Regions from separate parts of the Homo sapiens genome. Here region 2 is linked to region 1. Evidence: promoter capture Hi-C in 16 types of primary human blood cells and fetal thymus (Javierre and others, 2016). All regions are on one chromosome and are shown on one strand. The core of a region is centred on a gene start or on the middle of the fragment in contact, and the rest is flanking DNA. Distances in the headings are between cores, read along the strand shown. Region 1 holds the start of TMEM108-AS1 (TMEM108 antisense RNA 1). Region 2 overlaps NPHP3-AS1 (NPHP3 antisense RNA 1).

What was found. The method cuts DNA at HindIII sites, captures the fragments that hold promoters and counts their contacts. A CHiCAGO score of 5 or more calls a contact.
Region 2: a fragment that was not itself captured here is called in contact with the fragment with the promoter of TMEM108-AS1 in region 1 in 1 of 17 cell types (M1 macrophages); the score reaches 5.6 in M1 macrophages.

The regions. Positions count from the first base shown.
Region 1 is chr3:133,255,554-133,258,856 of GRCh38, forward strand. TMEM108-AS1 (TMEM108 antisense RNA 1) reads right to left here and starts at 1,568. Exons shown (of 3, transcript NR_110812.1): 1 at 1,472-1,568. The region is part of intron 3 of TMEM108 (transmembrane protein 108); the gene reads left to right. The HindIII fragment of the contact is 5,600 bases long and covers 1-1,898 here.
Region 2 is chr3:132,774,683-132,777,985 of GRCh38, forward strand. All of the region lies in intron 3 of NPHP3-AS1 (NPHP3 antisense RNA 1), which reads left to right. It overlaps LOC105374115 (a long non-coding RNA gene), which reads right to left. Exons shown (of 3, transcript XR_924500.3): 3 at 2,024-3,303. Among named protein-coding and RNA genes, the nearest start is that of NPHP3-ACAD11, 54 kb to the left of the region's middle. The HindIII fragment of the contact is 3,795 bases long and covers 1-3,303 here.

The DNA.
Region 1 (3,303 bases), core at 318-2,817:
TAACATAAGTACAGGTGGGGGTTCAAGAACGAGAGAATAGAGACAATGGGGGAGACGTATTTGAAAACATAATGGCTTAGAATATTTTCTAGAATGTATGAAAGATATGCATACTCAGATTCTGGGAATACTGTGAGTCTCAAAAATAATAAGGGCTGGGCGTGGTGGCTCACGCCTGTAATCCAAGCTCTTTGGGTGGCCGAGGTGGATAGATCACCTGAGGTCAGCAGTTCAAGACCAACCTGGCCAACATGGTAAAACCCCATCTCTACTAAAAATATAAAAATTAGACAGGCATGGTGGTGCACGCCTGTCATCCCAGCTACTCAAGAGGCTGAGGCAGGAGAATTGCTTGAACCTAGAAGGCGGAGCTTGCAGTGAGCCGAGATCATGCCACTGCACTCCAGCCTCTGCACTGGCTGACAGAGTGAGTCTCCTTCTCAAAAATAAATAAATAAATAAACAACAAGAACTGCATGCATGCCTGGTTATAAAAACAGCAAATAAAGAGATAATCCTAAAAGCAGCCAGAGGAAAATGTTCCTTATAAAGGAATAATATTTAAACTGATGGTTGACTTCTCAACAGCCACCACAGAATCAAGGAGACAGTGAAATAATATCTTTAAAATGCTGATAGAAAACAACCAGCAACTTGGAATTAAAGATCTGATCAAATAATCATTAAAGCACGAGGGTAAAATAAAGACATTTTCAGATATTTTTTAAAGTAGAACATTTTCACAGATGGACATTCATTTACAGAACTTCTAAAAGATATGCCTCAGGAAAAAGAACATTTCTTCTGAGAAACAAGGTCTTAAATATAAGAAGGAATAGCCAGCAAAGAAATTGGCAAACATAGTAGTCAACCCAAGCAAACATTTTCTGTATGAAACATATAATAATGTCTAATATGTGGGGTTAATGAAAAACAACACAGAATAAATATACTAGACAATAATAGCAGTTAAGTTGGGAGGGGATGAAGAGAATCAAAGTCTTATAAATTCCTTGTATTGTTAGGATGGAAAATATATCAATTAACTTAGGCATAGTCAAGTTTTAGTAGGCATGGCAAAATTTCAAGGAAACTACTAAAAGACATAGAATTCATAACTTCCAAACCAGTAAAACAGAACTATTAGAATAAGAAAGAAAAAACTCAGTCCAAAGGAAGGCAATCAAGAAGGGGAAAATAGATATAGAGAAATCTGGATAAGTAGGACAAGGCAGAAATAAATCCAAATGTCAGTAAGCACAGTAAATGTAAATGGACCAAACTAGCCAGTTAAGTGCTCCACAATTCACTTCATGAAATTACTATAACCTTAATGCAAAAGCCAGAAAATGATAGTATGAGAAAGTAAAATTACTGAGTCAGTCTTACCCGTGAACATAGTTCTAAAGTCATGGCTTGGTGAGAGGGATGACAATCATGAAACTGAAAGGGAAACAGTGCCTGTACTTACCATCCCTGATGTCAAAATGCCTGCAAGGACACTGCCTTCCTTTAGTTTATTTCTTGGGTAGAGACGACAGGAGGTCTTTATTGATATTATCTCATTTGAGATTGTCTCTTAATATTCATAACCTAAGGCTGCTATACAGTGCCTGTGTTATATAACAGCACCTCTTTTACAACTCAGGATGTCACAGTATTATGAGTAATGAGGTGCTTGTGGGAGTTATTGAAGGATTAACTATAGACTTGTAACCAATCCAAGAATTGCAGGAGATGAGGCACCCTCGTAAAGAATTTATCAAAGTAATTTGTCTATGTTGCTGTGGACAGATTACATTCTTATTCACTCTCTGAAAGTTTATTGCCAGTCTCTGAGTAGTTACAAATGCATTATTAATAATCCTTAGAAAAGCAATACATTGTTGCATGGCTTAAGCTTTGCTCGTGTCTAGAAATTTGGAACAGTTGAACCTGACTTCATTTCACTGCCTCTTAAAACTTGATCCCCCTGAAACAAAACCTAAAGAAGTATTGTGTTTCTCCCTCTAAATTCAGTGAATCTACTTGTCATTTATTCAGTGGTATTTGAAAGCTTAAGTTGGCAAATTAGACTAATATTAAAAACTTAGATATGCCTCTCTTCCTTCCCCATCTTTGAGAGCTGTTACTGAGTAAAGGAGCAAATGAAAAGGGATGAAACTCTCTGGTAGTTAAGTAGTGTATCTAAACTAAGTGGAGTAGATACTGCCTAGTTGTAAACTTCAGCCAGTTGTCTGTTGAGAAAGACAGGTGCAGGGGCTTTTCTTTTTTATTTTTCATGCAACAACTTACTTAGTGTATAACACTGAGCTATCCCTGTTTGGAAGAAGCCAGAGGCCCAGAAAATTTTTGCTAAAGGAGGGGTTGCTTTATGTATCTCCTTTAAAGGGAGATGGGTAGGACAGGATTCAGATGCTCCTGAGTCCCATAGTGAAAATACCATTTATAACCTGCTGTAGACTGTATGTTTATGATCCCCCCAAATTCATATGTTGAAACCTGAAGCCCAATGTGATGGTATTTGGAGGTGGGGCCTTTGGGAGGTGATTAGGTCATGAGGGTGGATCCCTCGTGAATGGGATTAATGCCCTTATAAAAGAGACCTTAAGGAGCTTTCTCACCCCTTCCTCCGTTTGAAGACATGGTGAGAAGGTATGGTCTATGAACCAGCCAGCGGGCCCTCACCAGAAACTGAGTCTGCTGGCACCTTGATCTTGGGCTTCTCAGCTTCCAAAACTATGAGAAGTAAATTGCTGTTGTTTGGTATTTTATTATAGCAGCCCTAACAGACTAAGATCCTCACCATAGTTTCCATCAAGCTACAAGAAGGGCATGTTGTGAAGGCAGGAAAGCATACCATGTGGTGGGCCCAGGCTGAAAGGAGCCAGCTGCCCACACCACCTCGCTTTTGATAAAGTTGGATGGAGGGGGGTGATGGAAGTCCAAAGGAATTCCTTAGGTGTTTGTGTCTCACATCCTTATCTCTGAGGCAGCTGCTGCCAGCTCATCTCCCTGTCCCTGCAGCTCAGAGGGCAGAGAGGTGCATTCCCTAGAACCAGTCAGCATTCAGAGCTGTTTGGCATCACCACTGCCTCATACTGCTATTCTTCATCCTCTTCAGACTGTATCCACTCTGACTCAGTGGTCATCCCCAAAACTTTGCATGAAGCAAAAGGAACTCTTCATTCAGACAGAGAGAGAGTTGGAGAGGGAACCAGGTGAGCATACCTCATGGCCTGAAGAACGTTATCCAAGAGAAAAAGTTTATTCTTAGAATTGTTATGTAGGCAACAATTCACT
Region 2 (3,303 bases), core at 595-3,094, 480 kb before region 1:
CATAGTGTAGATGATGCACATTTAACTTTTAAAGAAACTGCCAGTTTCCGAAAGTGTATGAGGGATTCCATATCCTTGCCAACATTTGGTGTTGTCAGATAGTTTTCAATGTAGCCATGGGTATGTTCATGATATCACTGATTCTTTCTTTTCTTTTCTTTTCTTTTTTTTTTTAACATTTTCATGGATTCTTAATCTGGTATCTATAGAACACTCTTGGGGTATGTTTGTGAAATTATATGCAAAAATTTATGGTTGCTTACCTTTTGAGTGTATGTGGATAGAGTCTATAATTTTCAGCTTCTTAATGCAGTCCCTCATCCCTTCAAGTGTTTACATTTATACAAAGGGCAGTCTCTAAATGTGTGATTTCTGGTCGGTCCGATAGCATAGGCCATAATAAAATATCAGGAATCAACTATTTATGCTCTGACATCTTATAGATTTTGTTTTACTGTAAAATGCAGTTAAGTAACACAAATTCTCACTAGCTCTTGATGTCTAAAAATACTATTTGGCCCAGATTTCTAGAATGTCCTCATGCATCCACAGCCCTTTCTATAATGAAAATCATCTCCTCTGGCCCTGTGTTATTAGAAAAGGAAATTTACATTTCTGATTTGATTAAAGAAAAATCAGTCATGGTGACTTTCACAGTGAATGTCTTTTGGCCTACCTGAAGCTCGGGCAAATGAAACAGGTAGGTGTAATTGCTGCAGACATTTGGCGTGCTCTATAAGGCTCAATTTATGATTGTGATTAGCCTCATCATTGTAGACTTTGAGAAATTTGCTTCCTAGATTGTTGTTTATTTTCATGTGCATAATTTAGCGAAGGTTTTCAAAGCATCATTTTTATGTGTGTGAACTTAAAAATTAGTGAGCTTCAGAAAGGATAAAGTTTCCTTTTGCAAACCCTCATATTCAGTTTAAAAATTCACACTGAATGAATTCAAGGATTAAAGAAAGAATTGAAAAATGTTTGCTCATTCTGTGGATGTCCTGTTTATGCCCAATTCATCATGTGCCATTAACTGACAATGGTCACTTCCAGTATAAAAATTTTTAAAAAGCCAGCTTCTAGCATTCATCTTAGTAAATGTCTTTCTAGAATATGTATTTTTTTATTTTTAATTTTTGTGATTACATAGGTATATATATTTATGGGGTACATGAGATATTTTGGTACAGACATGCAATGCGTAATAACCACATCATGAAAAAATTAGGTATCTATTCCCTCAAGCATTTATCCTTTGTGCTACAAACAATCTAATTACACTCCTTTAGTTATTTTAAAAGGTGCAATTAAAATATTATTGACTATAGGCCCCCTGTTGTGTCTCACTTATTTGTGGGATCTAAAAATCAAAACAATTGAACTCATGGAGATCGAGAATAGAAGGATGGTTACCAGAGGCTGGGAAGGGTAGTGGGGGGTGGGAGAGAGGTGGGAGTGGTTAATGAGTAAGAAAAAAAAAAAAAAAAAAAAGCCAGGCACAGTGGCTCTTGCCTGGGAGGCCAAGGTGGGCGGATCACTCGAACTCAGGATTTTGAGACCAGCTTGGGTGACTCAGTGAAACCTCGTCTCTACCAAAAATACAAAAATTAGCCAGGAGTGGTGGCACATGCCTGTAATCCCAGCTTCTTGGGAGGCTGAGGCACGGGAATCGCTTGAACCTGGGAGGTAGAGGTTACAGTGAGCTGAGATCGCGCCACTGCACTCCAGCCTGGGTGACAGAGTGAGACTCTGTCTAAAAAAAAAAAAGAAGAGCGAATAAGACCTAGAAATGTCTTCTGTTAGGAGTTTGGGTTTGAATAACAGCAACATAGAATTATGTGTTGGCCGTCTATACTGCATCCAAATTGCTTGAGTATTAAAATAATGAATGAGATACAGTAGGATGGCACTATCATTCCAGACTACTATAGTTGTCAAGGCATTAGTTCAGTATCTCATTGATTGTCACTGGATATGATGAGAGGAGAGGTGGTGCAGGGGAGAAAGTTCAGATATACTGTTGTTTCTTTGTAACAGCTTTATTGAGATCTAATTTACATACCATACAGCTCACCCATTTTTAGCATAATTTAATGATTTTCAGTATATTTGCAAAATTGTGCGACTGTCACCACAATTAATTTCAGAATATTTTCAGCATCTCAAAAGAAACCTATACCCTTTAGCAATCACACCCCTCCTCCACTTCCCCAAAGTGTTTCCAGCCCTAGGTAACCAGGAAACTACTTTCTGTGTCTATGGATTTGCCTCTTCTGGACACTTCATAAATATGGAATCATAAAATATGTAGTTTTTGTGACTGTCTTCTCTCAATTAGTACATTTTGGAGGTTCATCCATATTGTAATGTGTATTCATATATCATTCTTTTTATTATTGAAGAATGTTCTATTGTATGGGTAAGACCACATTTTATTTACCCATTCATCATTGATAGATGTTTGTATTGTTTCCACGTTTTAGCTGCTGTGAATAGTGTTGCTATGAACATTTGTGTAGAACTTTTTTAACTTAATGTTTTCAATTCTCTTGGGTATACATCTAGAAGTAGAACTGTTGGGTTATGTAGAACGTCTATGTTTAACTGAGGAATTGCTAAACTGTTTTCTAAGCAGCTGCATAATTTTACAATCCCACTAGCTATGTATTGGGATTCTGAGTTCTTCCCACATCCTCCACAACACGTGTTATTGTCAGTCTTTTTTATTTTAGTCATTCTAAGGGGTATGAAGTGGTATCTCGTTGTGGTTTTGAATGGCATTTATCTGATGATAATAATGTTGAGCATCTTTAAAATTTTTTTTTAATTTTTAAATTTTTTTGTGGGTACATAGTGGGTGTATATATTTATGGGGTACATGAGATGTTTTGATACAGGCATGCAATGTGAAATAAGCATGTCATGAAGAATGGAGTATCCATCCCCTCAAGTATTTATCCTTCGAGTTACAAACAATCCAGTTACATTCATTATTTTTAAAATGTACAATTGTTATTGCTGACCATAGTCACTTTATTGTGCTTATCAAATAGTAGACCTTATTCATTCTTTCTAACTCTTTTTTGTACCCATTAATCATCGCTAGCTCTCCTCTAGCCCCCAGTACCGTTCCCAGGCTCTGGTAACCATCCTTCTTCTCTGTCTGTCTGTTGAGCATCTTTTCATATGGTTATTTTCCATTTGTATATTATCTTATTTGGATAAATGTCTACTCAGATCTTTTACTCATTTTTTAATTGCCCTTTCTCTTATTGAGTTATAAGAGATTTTTGATATGCTTTT